Linked DNA regions of Homo sapiens: all the other regions are linked to region 5. The links are contacts of gene promoters, found by promoter capture Hi-C in blood cells and fetal thymus (Javierre and others, 2016). All regions are on one chromosome and are shown on one strand. Each heading gives the region's core, a stretch centred on a gene start or on the middle of the fragment in contact. The rest is flanking DNA. Distances are from core to core; before and after follow the strand shown.

The links. Contacts are between HindIII fragments. The CHiCAGO score rates a contact against its expected background, and 5 or more counts as called.
Region 1: a fragment that was not itself captured here is called in contact with the fragment with the promoter of SUCO in region 5 in 8 of 17 cell types (total B cells, naive CD8 T cells, total CD8 T cells and 5 more); the score reaches 11.8 in total B cells.
Region 2: a fragment that was not itself captured here is called in contact with the fragment with the promoter of SUCO in region 5 in 1 of 17 cell types (neutrophils); the score reaches 8.2 in neutrophils.
Region 3: a contact is called between a fragment that was not itself captured here and the fragment with the promoter of SUCO in region 5, in 1 of 17 cell types (monocytes). The highest score is 7.3, in monocytes.
Region 4: a fragment that was not itself captured here is called in contact with the fragment with the promoter of SUCO in region 5 in 1 of 17 cell types (neutrophils); the score reaches 6.1 in neutrophils.

Annotation. Positions count from the first base shown.
Region 1 is chr1:175,001,981-175,004,810 of GRCh38, forward strand. It overlaps CACYBP (calcyclin binding protein), which reads left to right. Exons shown (of 6, transcript NM_014412.3): 2 at 2,634-2,830. Among named protein-coding and RNA genes, the nearest start is that of CACYBP, 3.4 kb to the left of the region's middle. The HindIII fragment of the contact is 1,916 bases long and covers 535-2,450 here.
Region 2 is chr1:174,983,285-174,986,073 of GRCh38, forward strand. All of the region lies in intron 24 of RABGAP1L (RAB GTPase activating protein 1 like), which reads left to right. Among named protein-coding and RNA genes, the nearest start is that of CACYBP, 15 kb to the right of the region's middle. The HindIII fragment of the contact is 1,764 bases long and covers 369-2,132 here.
Region 3 is chr1:174,962,001-174,964,819 of GRCh38, forward strand. The region is part of intron 20 of RABGAP1L (RAB GTPase activating protein 1 like); the gene reads left to right. Among named protein-coding and RNA genes, the nearest start is that of RABGAP1L-AS1, 9.1 kb to the left of the region's middle. The HindIII fragment of the contact is 1,769 bases long and covers 602-2,370 here.
Region 4 is chr1:169,898,135-169,900,920 of GRCh38, forward strand. No RefSeq gene overlaps it. Among named protein-coding and RNA genes, the nearest start is that of SCYL3, 5.6 kb to the left of the region's middle. The HindIII fragment of the contact is 5,358 bases long and covers 1-2,786 here.
Region 5 is chr1:172,531,833-172,534,534 of GRCh38, forward strand. SUCO (SUN domain containing ossification factor) reads left to right here and starts at 1,318. Exons shown (of 24, transcript NM_014283.5): 1 at 1,318-1,665. The coding sequence starts at 1,604. RefSeq lists enhancers at 517-626, 687-936, 1,547-1,706 and a silencer at 1,257-1,426. The HindIII fragment of the contact is 4,223 bases long and covers 1-2,431 here.

The sequences.
Region 1 (2,830 bases), core at 243-2,742, 2.5 Mb after region 5:
ATCCGCCCGCCCGCCTCGGCCTCTGAAAGTGCTGGGATTACAGGTGTGAGCCATGGCGCCTGGCCTTATTTCCACTTCGTGACTAGCATAAATAATGCTGCTGCGAGTACTGTATCCAAGTTTTTTGTGTGGATGTGTTTTCAGTTCTCTGGGGTATATACCTAGGAGTGGAATTACTGGTTCATATGGTAACTTTCTGAGAAACTGTTAGACTGTTTCCAGAGTGGTTGCATCATATTCCTGTAAGAAATGTTTGAAGCTTCTGAAAGTTTCTCCACATCATTATCAACATTTGTTATTTTCTGGGGTGTTTTATTTTTCTTTTTCGGTTTATGATACCATCCTACTGGGTGTGAAGTGGCATCTTGGGAATTTGATATGCGTTTACCCAATGATGAAGATGTTGAGCATCTTTAATGTTCTTGGTGTCCATTTCTGTGTCTTTGGAGAAATGTGTGTTGAATTCCTTTGCCCATTTTTGAGGCACATTGGTGTTAATGCCTCCTAGTGAAAAATTAGGAAATAGGAAGATAAAGCTTGAATGCCTTATGGGTAGGGATAAAAGAGAAATAAAATTTTTATATACGTAAAACAAACACATGCCAAGAAGGCAAGGAAAATTACATGATAAATTAGATAGGAAACTAGGACATCTTAAAGTATTTGTGCAGAAAAAGCATCAAAGGAATCACCTTTGTTGGTTTCAAGTCTGCCAATAACAGAACTGAGGAACTGTCTCAGTTTTAAGTTTTTTCAGTGGATACTTCATAATAAAAAGAGTACTTTAGAGTCAAAACTGGCAATAAAGAGGGCTTGGGAATTCAGCCATTGGGGGAATCCCTTGCCTAATTCGAAGTACCTTTCTCATTCTGCTAGATAAAGTATTCCTATTTCAGTCAAAAAGCAAAACCTCTTGCTTAGACTTAATATATTTCATTTTACATTTCAATATTTTTATTATGAATTAGGAGTTGTAGAATCAGCGTTTTTTTGAAACCATTACAATAAAAATATTACTTTGAACTGAAACATTTTGGTTCTATGCTCAAAAGATGAGTTTGCAAGATTTTTTGTCATAGTAATATGAGCTGTTCTTGGAAGGGTCGAGAGTGTGGACAAGAGGGTTGGGCAGAGTTGATTTTTTTTTTTTTTTGGGAGACCGAGTTTTGCTCTTGTTGCCCGGGCTGGAGTGCAATGGCGCGATCTCGGGTCACTGCAACCTTTGCCTCCCGGGTTCAAGCGATTCTTCTGCCTCAGCTTCCCGAGTAGCTGGGATTACAGGCACGTGCCACCACACCCGGCAAATTTTTGAATTTTAAGTAGAGACGGGCTTTCGCCGTGTTGGTCATGTTGGTCTCGAACCCCTAACCTCAAGTGATCCACCCGCTTTGGCCTCCCAAAGTACTGGGATTACAGGTGTGAGCCACTGCACCTGGCCAGAGTTGAACTTTTTATACCATGTCATCTGTTATAGATAGGCAAAACTAGGGCATCTGAGTTAAATGAGATAACAAAAGACTTGTAGTAAAAGAAAAGAATTAGTTCTGTTATTGCATTTTATAAGACTATTAAGAAACAGGCTTTCAAACTCTGTTGTGCGTCTGATATTCTGAGTTATAAAGCACTAAAAGACTTTTTTAAATTGAGCTTTTGATATCAAGCTGTGACACAAGATTTTTTTGGTCAAGTTGGTAGTGTCAAGCCAGAGTGTAAAGTTATTGTAAGAAAAGTGAAACAGCTGTTTGGAAAGATCTTGTGTATTTGCAGTATGTCAGAGGGTAATTGGGGGAAAAAAAACTTAGGCTCAATAATTTTCTAACATTGTCTTTAACTCTTGAATTTCATAAAATGTTGCCTCTATCTCTAGAAAGTAGAAAGTAGTAGACTTTAATAGATGATGGATTGGCAAGAGAAGAAAATGAGAACGTGGTGGCTTTTTCAAAAGATAATTTCCAAGAGTATGTTGCATTTTCGGTCTTTTGTCACCTTCTGTGCAACCAACTCCTACACTTCTGAGTGTAAGACTGACCCAGCTTCAGAGCAAGACTTTTCCTCAAAAGCAGAAATTTTTTTTTTTATCTTTTGTCTTAAAAATTAAGACTTTTTTTATGTGAGGTATTTGAGGTGGGAAGATAATGAAGACCAATCAGTGACAGAAAGTGGAGCATTCATTACCTCAGTTAAGTTTGCTATAAAAGCATTTTACCATGGTCACTGCATGTTCTCTCATCTCTTAAATATTTTAAAAGTGTCTAACATCTAATGACACTCGGATTAGATGTTACAAGGAAATCTATGAATCCTTTGTCAAAAAAAAGTTCTTTGTTTTACTTTTTAGGTCGCAGACGTTTCTTGTAAATATTTTAAAACATAAACTGGAAAATTTAGGTTTGAAGACCTATTTATTGTTTGTTCAAGATTGTTCAAAGTTTTCCTTTTGAAAAAAAGGAAGCTTGAGTTAATTACAGTTAATAAGCCAGATGGAAGAATTGAAGTTGCAACTCAATCCTAGAAAATTTAGATGAACTTCTTAATTCTTAGTGCTTATTTCAGTAAGTTGAAATGAGTGATACGCACAATATCAAGCCATTTCCTTATTTATCATAGCTAACTTATTTTTTGTCTTAACACAGCTACAGAAAGATCTAGAAGAGGTAAAGGTGTTGCTGGAAAAGGCTACTAGGAAAAGAGTACGTGATGCCCTTACAGCTGAAAAATCCAAGATTGAGACAGAAATCAAGAACAAGATGCAACAGAAATCACAGAAGAAAGCAGAACTTCTTGATAATGAAAAACCAGCTGCTGTGGTTGCTCCCATTACAACGGGCTA
Region 2 (2,789 bases), core at 1-2,500, 2.5 Mb after region 5:
ATAAGTAAACACCATGGGCAATATAGAACTTAGCTGGAAAAACATGTGTTGGGTAACTGATTCTTGCACTAAGTTTTTAGAGGTTTATTTTTAAAGAAAACCTGTGGCATTTGTTTACTTGCTGCCCCCTGGTGGTAAAATGCATTATGTTGATGCTCTATTTGAAAAAAACAGATTGCTTATTCCATAGAAACAACAGTAAACCAATGGATTGGTATTCTTAAGAGGCAATATTGTCATAGTCAACTTTTGGGACCAGTGTTACAGAAACCTGACATCATCTTATTTGAATATGTTCAGGTTTCATACTAGTAAATAAATGTGTAGTAAGTAATTTAGCAATCTTGAAAAGTGATTTAACCTTTTTAAGCTTCATTTTGTGTTCTATAAAATGGAGATAACATTACCTGCCTCAAAAAATCATTCTGAATGTTAAATAAGATAATGAATATAAAGTACATAGTGTATATAAAGTGCTTATATTAGTACCTGACATACAAGACCTTGTATTCCAAAAGTATTTTCTTCTTACTCATGTTACAAAATGTCAATGAGAGATTTAGTGAGTATAAGGTTTGGTGTTCTCCCTCTCTGATGTGCTAAAATTTGATGTTTGTATCTTCCCTTTCTGGTCTACTTTTGCACTTCTTTCTAGTTAGCACTTACCACTCTTTGTACATTATAGGCATACTGACCAAGATTCAGTTGATGAAGTTGAATGGCATAAAGGGGTTAACTCTCCTGAAGTGAATTTTTTTTGTATTTCTTCTAACAAAAAAAAAAAAAAAAAAAAAGGGATACATGTGCAGAAGGTGCAGGTTTGTTACATAGGTATACGTGTGCCATGGTGGTTTGCTGTGCCTGTTAACCCATCCTCTAAGTTCCCTCCCCTCAGTCCCCACCCCCAACAACAGGCCCTGGTGAGTGTTGTTCCCCTCTTCTGTGTCCATGTGTTCTCAGTGCTAAACTGAAATCTTTATGGAAATAACAAAATGAGAATTTATATTGATTATTCAGCAAAGGTTTTATTGAGCATATACTATGTGCATAGCTATTAGACTGCCATTTTGTTATAGAAATTACACATGAAAAGGAGCTTAAAATTTTCCTGTAGGACAAGTTATGTATACATGCAAATTAAGAACTTCGGAAGCAGTTCAAGGGAGCTAAGTTGGGCCAGGTGTGGTGGCTCACGCCTGTAATCCCAACACTTTGGGAGGCTGAGGTGGGCAGATCACCTGAGGTCAGGCGTTCAAGACCAGCCTGGCCATCATGGTGAAACCCTGTCTCTGCTAAAAATAACAAAAATTAGCCAGGCATAGTGGCTCACACCTGTAATCTCAGCTACTCTGGAGGCTGAGGCACAAGAATCACTTGAACCCAGGAGGCAGAGGTTGCAGTGAGCCGACATTGTGCCACTGTACTCCAGCCTGAGCAGCAGAGTGAGATTCCATCTCAAAAAAACAAAAAACAAACAAAAAAAGTGCTAAGTTGGATCACAATGACAATCAGCATTGTAGAGAAAACAAAATCATGAGAACTATAGACCAAAAAAGGCTTTATGGAGATTGGACTAAAGCAGGGTGGATAGAAATTAGTTAGAGAGAAGTGTTTAAACAGAACATTATAGAAGAAATGATGTGAGTGAAGACGCAAACACAGGAATGAGTATTTCAGTGTCTCATTACAGAGACTGATGTGATTAGAATATGTATTAAGGAACAGAGGAAAATATTGGCTAAGTAGGTGAGACTACCTAATGAAAGGCCATGACATTCAGGAAGAGGAATGTAAACTTGTCTTAGCCAGAATAAAGAAGAACAACTAGGCTCACGCCTGTCATTCCAACACTTTGGGGAGGCTGAGGTGGGCGGATCACTTGAGTCCAGGAGTTCAACTTGGTGAAACTCCTGGACTGGGAAACTTGGTGAAACCCTGTCTCTACAAAAAATACAAAAATTAGCCGGATGTGGTGGCATGCACCTGTAGTCCCAGCTCCTCAGGAGGCTGAAGTGGGAGGATCGCTTGAGCCCAGGAGGCTGAAGCTGCAGTGAACTGTGAGCATGCCATGGCACTCCAGCCTGGGTGACAGTAAGAGCCTGGTACAAAATTAAAAAAGAAAAAGACAGTAAAGCTTCTTTTTTATTGATGATAAGGTCGCAAACAGGTAATTCATTTGATCAAGGTTACACAGCTAGTAGAACCAGGATTTAAGCCTGGAAGTCAGACTCTAAAGTCAATAACATTAGCTGTTAGACTATACTACCTCCCCTTTCTCTAGTGCTTCCTCCTATCTCATTTGGTATGATAAATAGCTTTTGGTTTTTTCAGTTTCCTGTAATAACCTTCTTTTGTCATGATCACCCCCCAGTTCATCCTTTACACTATAATCAGAATGAGTGTTCCCAAATATAAAGTGATATTTGACTATCACTCTGTGTATCAATGCAGAATTAGATTGGCCACATATAGGGAACCCAAAATAGCATTGGCTTAAACATAAAAGGTGTTGATTATTTTACATAAAAGCAGCCTAGGACTAGAAAGGTATATCTTTGGTGTCATTAGTAACCCAAGCTAATCAGTCATTAGTGACCTACATCGTCATGTGGACTTCTATCCTCAAGGTCACCTAAAAACCAATCCTTCCTTTCTTTTTTTCTTTTTTTTTTGAGACGGGGTCTCGCCCTGTCGCCCAGGCTGGAGTGCAATGGCACAATCTTGGCTCACTGCAACTTCTGCCTCCCAAATTCAAGCTATTCTCCTGCCTCAGCCTCCCAAGTACATGG
Region 3 (2,819 bases), core at 236-2,735, 2.4 Mb after region 5:
AAATAAATAAAAATATAAAAAAAAATTAGCCAGGCGTGGTGGTGGGCACCTGTAGTCCCAGCTACTTGGGAGGCTGAGGCAGGAGAATGGTGTGAACCCAAGAGGCGGAGTTTACAGTGAGCCAGGATCACGCCACTGCGCTCCAGCCTGGGCGACAGAGTGAGACTCCGTCTCAAAAAATAAAAATAAAAATACACCCCCCCCCCACACACACACACAGCTAGTTAATTAAATTCAGTGAATCTCCCAAAGCATAATAAAGGTTACCTGTTCTAGATGGGAAAATACTAAAAGAATCTGGAATGCTTAAACTCTCTTGGGTTTGGGACACAGACATTATTATAAATACATAATTTCTAATTGAAGTGTCTTATCCATGTTCAGTACAATTAAATTTAGAATGTTTAACCTCATTCTTGAGATTAAACAAAGTAATTTTTAAAATCAAAATGTAATTTAAACAAAGAAAATGATTCCTCTATGTTTCCACAGAGTTTTTTCTTGCACATACTGGTTTTTGTAGAGCAATTGCTCCTACATGTAATTTCAAATTAAGCTATTATGCATAGTAAAAATAATACAAATGAAATATTTGAAATAAAGCTTAATTGTACTTTTTTGCCATCCTTAAATATCTAATGCAATAGTTTAGAGTAATTTTCACATTTCTTTTAAACTTGACAAATAAAAGTTTAAATTAGTATACATTTCTTACCTATAAAAAAGAGGGAGTAGACTTTTTAAAAAAACTGTTGGACCCTTTCTTACTCAGGGGAGTCAAGATAAGTGAATCCATCTTTGAAAAATGTTTTTCTGGCTGGGTGTGGTGGCTCACACCTGTAATCCCAGCACTTTGGGAGGCCAAGGCAGGTGGATCACTTGAGGTCAGGAGTTCAAGACCAACCTGGCCAACATGGTAAAACCCTGTCTCTACTAAAAATACAAAAATTAGCTGGGTGTGGTGGCACATAACCTGTAGTCCCAGCTACTCAGTAGGCTGAGGCAGGAGAACCTCTTGAACCTGGGAGGCAGAGGTTGCAGTGGGCAGAGATCGTGCCACTGGACTCCTGCCTGGGTGACAGAGCAAGACTCCGTCTCAAAAAAAAAAAAAATTTTTTTTCTGCCATAGCAAATAAACTTACATTTTATTATTTTTTCATATCCCAAAAACTGTGTTGGCTTTTGGAAATAGTATGTTATGAAATAATGTGCTTTTAAGGAATAGTAATAGACACAAGGATGGTTTATATATGCCTATGATAACTTAATGATAAACTTCAGAAGTCTTCCACTTTCTCTTTGAGCTTGGATAATCCAGAGAGTTCATTGTTATAGGATGGTGAAGATGCAAAACTAAATCCTTTTGGCTTCTCAAGCAATATAGCTAATAAGGAGTGGGCGATTTCTAACAATGCTGGTCTGCTAGAGTCCCTTATACTTAACCCTTGGGGGAAGAATATGCTTTAGGAACACTAAGAATTTCTAGTATGTTTACTGGTGATCTTCAGAGTTTTCAAGAAACTTTCATTAATTTTTAGAAAGTTTTCTTTTCTGTTTAAGTATTACTGAGAAAATTACCTGACACTAATATGTTTCTATATCATCTAGAATGCATCTGCTTTTTGAAAATTTGATTTGTGTACTAGAGTAGAGCAAGGATCTGCAGACTGTGGTTTATAGGCCAAATCTGGCTCACTGCCAGTTTTTGTAAACCAAGTTTTATTGGAACACAACCACACCTGTTTATTTATTTATAGTGTATGGCTGGTTTTGTATGACATTTGTAGAGTTGAGAAATTTCAACATAGACCATGCGACCTGCAAAGCCTAATATAGTTACTTTCTGGCAATTTACACTAGAAGTTTGCTGACCCCTGTGCAAGAGTATAACCTAAGATAGTTTTTTAAGCGCTGAAAGAAATGCAGTCTGTTTGGCCAGCTGTCATTTATCACTGACAAGATTTTGTTTTTAGTTTGACATTTAAAAATTTGAAATTTTCCACTACAAAGATAAAATTGGATGTGATGAGTAAAGGAGGGAAGCACAAAACCTTCAAATATCCATATTTTCTTTCTCAGATCTTCATTATGGACAACATAGATATTTAAACATTTTATCTGTAGGCATTTGAAAACTTGAATATGATAGCTGTCAACTCTTTTAAAAGAGGTATCCAAAAGAAAATATGTGAGAGTTGAGTGTGTTGTTGCTAATAAATTTGCACTGAGTCTTTTAGGAAAACATTTTCTCCTGACCCTTAAAAGTCTTTAAAAGCATGTGCCAAGAATTCATCATAGCAGCAGACAACACCCAAAATATTGAGCTAGGGTTTATAAAGCCGCCTCCCTCCTCGTCATTTTTTCCTTTAAAGCTTAGTTTCTTTACTTTTAATTAACAGTTCACATTTCTCTGGTTTCTCATCTTGAAATAAATGACGTTCACAATCCCTTGAACCGCTTCACCCAGACTTCAGCCCCCAGGTACACATGAGATCCAGGATCCATTTTTCTTTTGCATTGCCCTGCCCAGCAATTTCATTCTTTTGTCTGAAGATGAACTATTTTGCAAGATTTCTGACCTTGTCATATAAGGAAGTTCCTTCCACCCAGCTTTAACAACACAGTATCAACACCTCACACCGTAGTTCCTTAATAGTCCCACATACAGCATTTTAGTCATTCATGCAAACTGTAAACAGCAATGTGGAGAGGGAGGAGTTTGAAGATATGAGTCTTCCTGAGTTGAGACTTGCCCACTGGCTACCTCAAGTATCTTTGTTCCATTGAATGTTTGCGGTCACAGAGAGAACTTAGAGTTA
Region 4 (2,786 bases), core at 20-2,519, 2.6 Mb before region 5:
GAAAACAGGGCTTCCTTCCTTCATTTCTTTCTTTCCTGCCATATTTCTAGCACATAACACAGTGCCTAGAACATACTAGGTACTCAGTAAATATTAAACACACAAATGAATTTACTGAGAGCACACTGCATGTCCCAGGCACCCTCCCTACATCTCTCTGCCTCCCAGCCCTTACCCCACAGAGCCCTCTATAGCTCTGGTTCCAGTTCTCAGTTCCCTGGAGCTGCTCTCTGAGCTCCTTCTGCCTTTCTTATGCATAGAAATCTTGTATTCCCTCACTGATTCCTCAGTCCTCATTTTAAATATGTCTAAGGCCAGGAAAGAAAAGAATCTCCAACAACCTGAATCCGCTGTCCTTGGAATGTGGCTGGTGGGACAGTTAGAAACAAATAGTTTGTTTTCTTAATAGAAATAATTTTTTCTTGTCATACTGTTTAAGGATCAACCTGAATTTTACTTCCAACCAATCCTCTTCTTAATTCAAATCAAAACATGTCAATGGTATTCAGCTTGACTTTTAGGTGTTTTTTTAATTAATCTTTTTCATGTTTCTAACTTAGATTCCCAAGTAGACTATAAGTATCTTGGATATATTCCTGGTTCTATAAAAGCCTTAGCCATCCAACTTAATTATTTTTTTCCAACTTGATTTGAACTAACTTTTTTACAAGCTCTACCTGAAAACCAAAGAGAGTAAAAGTTATTCAAGTGATTTCTATTTAATGTTCTACCTCAATAATTTGTGTAATTGCATAATTGCAATTAGAATCTGGAAGTGTAAAGGGGGAAACTTGCATGAATGACAAACCCTCCTTCAGGCACATTTCAGATAAATACATATAGCATCCATAAGTAGTGGATACCTTATAGAAAACTGAACTGGACCTAAGCCACTTTGTTCTCTCGTTGTTTTTAGGAACTTTGCATAGATATTGGAAGATTTCTCTAATGAGAAGTATGTGTTTTCTAAGTTCCACCATAACCTTGCTACCACTACAAAGAGAGAATGAAAGCAAGTCTGAGGTGGGATTCTACACATTCACACGTTTATTAGCAAGGTTTAAAGACAGGCAGTAGAGCTGTTATACAAACTCAGTGAGGTTCCACTTCCTTGTGTAGGAGCTTGAATAGCATCTTGCATGAAAGGTCCATCCACTGCAGGAAGATGGGACAGTATTCTAATAGCAGACTCAGCTATCCTCATTAGAGCTGGGTGACAAAATCTTCTTGTAATCTTCTCCATATGGGGCTGGTCTGAAATCCTAAATCTAGGGCACCTTTCCAAAGTGTGTAGATTGCTAGACTCACTAGATTCTCATACTCTGATCATGTAAGGCATGGCAACATTTCTATTCATTCTGTCCATCTTGAAATTACTTATTTTGGCCATGAAAATTCACTTTTAAACATCCTTAAAGCCACTAGTATTGATCTGAGTTAGAGATAGCTGAAGTGTTTGTAGTATCTGCCCCAGGAGTATAGACTTCTCATTGAAATCTTTCAGATGCTAAAAGCCTCTGAAGTGTGAATTGCTTCTCAACTTCAAAGAGCCATGAATCATCTTGGAATCATACTCCTGGGAGAAAGATTTGGGGCAAACAATGTGTGCATTATATATCTACCTCTTCTTTGAAATACTTCAGCCTTCAGGGAGATACAGATGTGTACTAACTTAGATCTATCCTGTAGGGGTGGTTAATTAATATTTGAAGGCAACATGAGCATCCTCTGGAAGCATGTTAAAAATGCAAAAGCTGAGGCCTCACGCTAGATTGTCGAGTCAGAATCTACATTTTAACAGGATCTTTAGGTGATTTGCAGGCACCTTCCTTGCAGGAAGGTTTGAGAACTGCCCTAAATGATCTAAGGCCTCCCTCCTTTGGCCTCACTGCTATCCTCCTGCTCACTAACTCTGGTCCATGCTCAGTGGCCTCCTTGCTGTCCTGTCAGCATGCCAGGTGAGCTCTTGCCTTAGGACTTTTGCTCTAGCGCTTCCTTTTCCTGTCATTCTCTTTTCCCACATGTCCATTTGACTAAGTCTGTTACTTCTATTTTTTGTTCAGATCTCGTCTTCTCAATGAAGTCTGTCCTGATCCACCCTATCTAATTCTACAACGTTTACCTTCCTTCCTGCTACACTCCTGGTGCTTCCTATCCTGTTTTCTTTTGCTTTTTCCCTCCATAGCACTGACCGTCTTATAAACAGCCATATACTGTATTTTCTAGATTGTAAAAACTATAGTTTTTCACATTTTAACATCCCTGAAGGTCAGAATGCATTTTACCACAAATGGCATAATATAATTTGTCAATAATTTTTTCTTAGTGGTACCAAATATATTGATGCTTCCTAAATGTGATGGCATCATATATTTGATGAAATATGACAATTTGCTTATGTATTATGGCTTTTGGTTTTGAGAGAAAACAATTATCTGAAACTTTAAAATAGGCAAAAGAGGTTACTGTGGCTTTCTTCCCATGCAATTCTGGATTAAATTCCTATTGACTAGGTTATTTTACTACTTCTTTATTACCTTTTTAGGGGCAGAGGCTAACTTTTTCATTTTCATCCACTAGAGATGTAAATAAGTTTGTCCAGCACAGCAAATCATCTTAATGGTTACAGTTTATTGTCCTGTAAGTTATTAACCCAGCAACCTGAACCTGACATGTCTTTATCAAATTGCCTACATATACACCTATCTTCTCAGCTGCTATTTGGACTAGTTTAAAATCTTACTGATTCCCTCATTAATAAAAACATTAAATAGAGTCTTTGACAT
Region 5 (2,702 bases), core at 68-2,567:
TGCCAGAAAAGGCAGTTCAGGGTGAACTCCTTTAAAACAAAAATTATCACCCTTTGTATAATTTCTCTAACATCAAATTGACTTATATCCAAGAATCACAGAGCGGATCAAATCATTCAGTTCTTTGGGACTATAATTAACATCCAATTCAACTTAGAAGGTTCATAAGGAAATTCCGCGGCTCAAAATTAGGCGTTAGGTGGGCATTTTACTGAGGGTTTTTTCCCTACGGCCACATGAACAATAAGTAACCCGTCCTTTAAACATTTTTCACACTAAACATTATGCCATGTTCCAAGGCACAGACCATTGCAGCCTCCGTCCCCTCAGCGGCGTAAACACTTGGAATGGGCATGCTGCCCCGTTACTTAGTATTGAGAAGTGGTCACTTTTTGCTCTTCTTAGGTGAGTGTAAGCGACTGCCTTCCCCACTTTAGGTGAACCCCAGGACTTGGAGCGTCTGTGGGTGCTCCTCTAATGGGGACAACTCCTCCCTTCCGACTCCATCGCAGAGAACCCAAAGTTCGAAACCAACAGAACGAAAAGCAACGAAGCACACTTAAAGTGAGGAACCCGGCAAGCGGCGAAATTCTTGCTGAAGAGAAGAAAAAGCGAAAGGTTTTCCGCTGCAACCAATCAGATGAGAGGATTCTTGGCACGCCCCTTTCTATCTACCAATCAACATCTAGCTCAATGGGGCAGTCCATTGCCACAGGGAAAGGGCTTGGTGCAGCTTCCCTCACAACACACACGTCATTCTAGGCCATTCCACGAACTGTGCTCAAAAGAGGAAAACAGTGCAACAGTTCCAAAGCTGATCAGTCTCGTGGTGAGCAGCGAAACTATAGACTTCTCTAACAAAACCATGGATTCTAGGAGGGACTGGGAAAGAGAAAAACGAATTCTGGAAGGCAAACTACAACTCCCAAAGGCCCTTGCGCGGACTCAGCGCGCGAGGGACGAAGGGCGGTCCACTGTAAGGGGAAATGCTGAGGATCACTGGGCTCCTCCCGGCTTTCTGAACGCAAGCCAGCAAGTGGGCGGGACCTGGGGCGGGCGGAGCGGCGAGAGCATCTGCTCCTGCGCTTTGTGGTCTCCTGCCTCCGGCTTCTCCGCCTGCGACGTCGAAGGGGGCGTGGCCTGCGCAGAGGCTGGTGGGGGTGCGGGCGCCGCGGGACTTGGGTGACGCGTCCCTTTCCAGCTCAGCGGTGTGTGAGGTGTCGCGGCCCCGCCGGCGATTGGCTGTTGAGAGGCGAGTACGCGGCGGCCGTTGGTCGCTGGCCTCACGGAGCAAGGCCCCCGGCGGGCGGGGAGGATATGGGGCGGCAGTGGCGGCTGCAGGAGGCGGGCGTGGACGAGCCGGTGGCTGCAGCGGCGGCGGTCCCCGGAGTCCTGTGAAGCGCCCCTGTCCGCGCCTCTGTGGGGCCCTCAGAGAGGGCTGCCAGGACGCGAGCCACTGAGGAGCCGCTCAGCCAGCGCCATAGCCCTTAGGACTATCGGTCACATTCTCGCGCTCCTGCTCCGGCTCCTCCATCTTGGCCTCGGCAGTGGCGGCTGCCGGGAGGATGTGCCGCCTTCTGGCAGGGGGAAGAAGGAGGAGAAGATGAAGAAGCACCGGCGGGCCTTGGCCCTGGTCTCCTGCCTCTTTCTGTGCTCTCTGGTCTGGTGAGTAGCCGCGACGACAAGGGAGTTCCCGTGAGGGGAGTAAATGGGAGGGAGCAGCCCAGGTCACACCCCCTGGTCATTTTGGCTTTTAGGGTCCGGGTTTCCAAGGCCCCCGTGGAAGGGACAAACCGATTACTTCTCGACTCTCCATCTGACTGGTCTGGTAGTGCTCTGTGCGGAGATTTTCATGGTGTATTTTGGAATTTACAGAGACTCAGTGGGAGAGAGAGAGGTGCCAAGGTAGAGGGAACCACCAAGTGCCTTTGTACTCAGTTCCTCTACCCCTTGGAGACGGTGCAGGGTTTGGGGTGGGTGTTCAGATTGATGGTAAGTAAGTTGCTCCGATTTGCCGCCAGTCTTTGCGTTCTTAGTGTGGTAAGGGGATAAAGCACGTCGGATGTGATGCGTTCCGGACGTGCGATTTTAAAACGTGAGTGGTCATGAAGGTAAGAGTAATGTATAAGCAGTAGTTCTCCTGGACATTTCTCGCACAGCGTTTGATCCCAAGTACACTCGGGCCGCTGTTTTTGGAAACTTGGGGGGCGTGTGTGTATGTGTGTTATGAAGCACTTTTTCAATTGGTTTGGTGGAGAGGGTGTCTTAGATGTAGTGTGTGTAGTAGTTTTTGGTAATGCCCCTTAGTGACGGGAAGGTAAATGCTGTATTTTCAAGGCGGGAAGAGTGCTTTGTCCCTAAAGCACTCCTTAAGTTTTACGGAGTTTCTGTTAATCCCAGGCACTTCTGGAGTTTTTTGAGGAGCAGAGAAAGCTTGTAAGTCGAGGGACTGCTGTCACCGTACTTGGAAAAGCCATTCTTTCCTCCCAGGGAATTTCTTCAAAGATGTGTGACAATTGATGACTGAAAAGATGCTTCTTCAGTCTAGGCGATTTGCTGTTTGTTATATTAAAATAGAAATTAAGTTTCCTGTTTTGCTTATTTCTGCAAAGCACCAACACTATTTTCATTTTTATGGATGCCTTATGGATTCCAGAAGCACTGAAATTGTAGAGTTGTTGCTCACATAAAATAATACATAA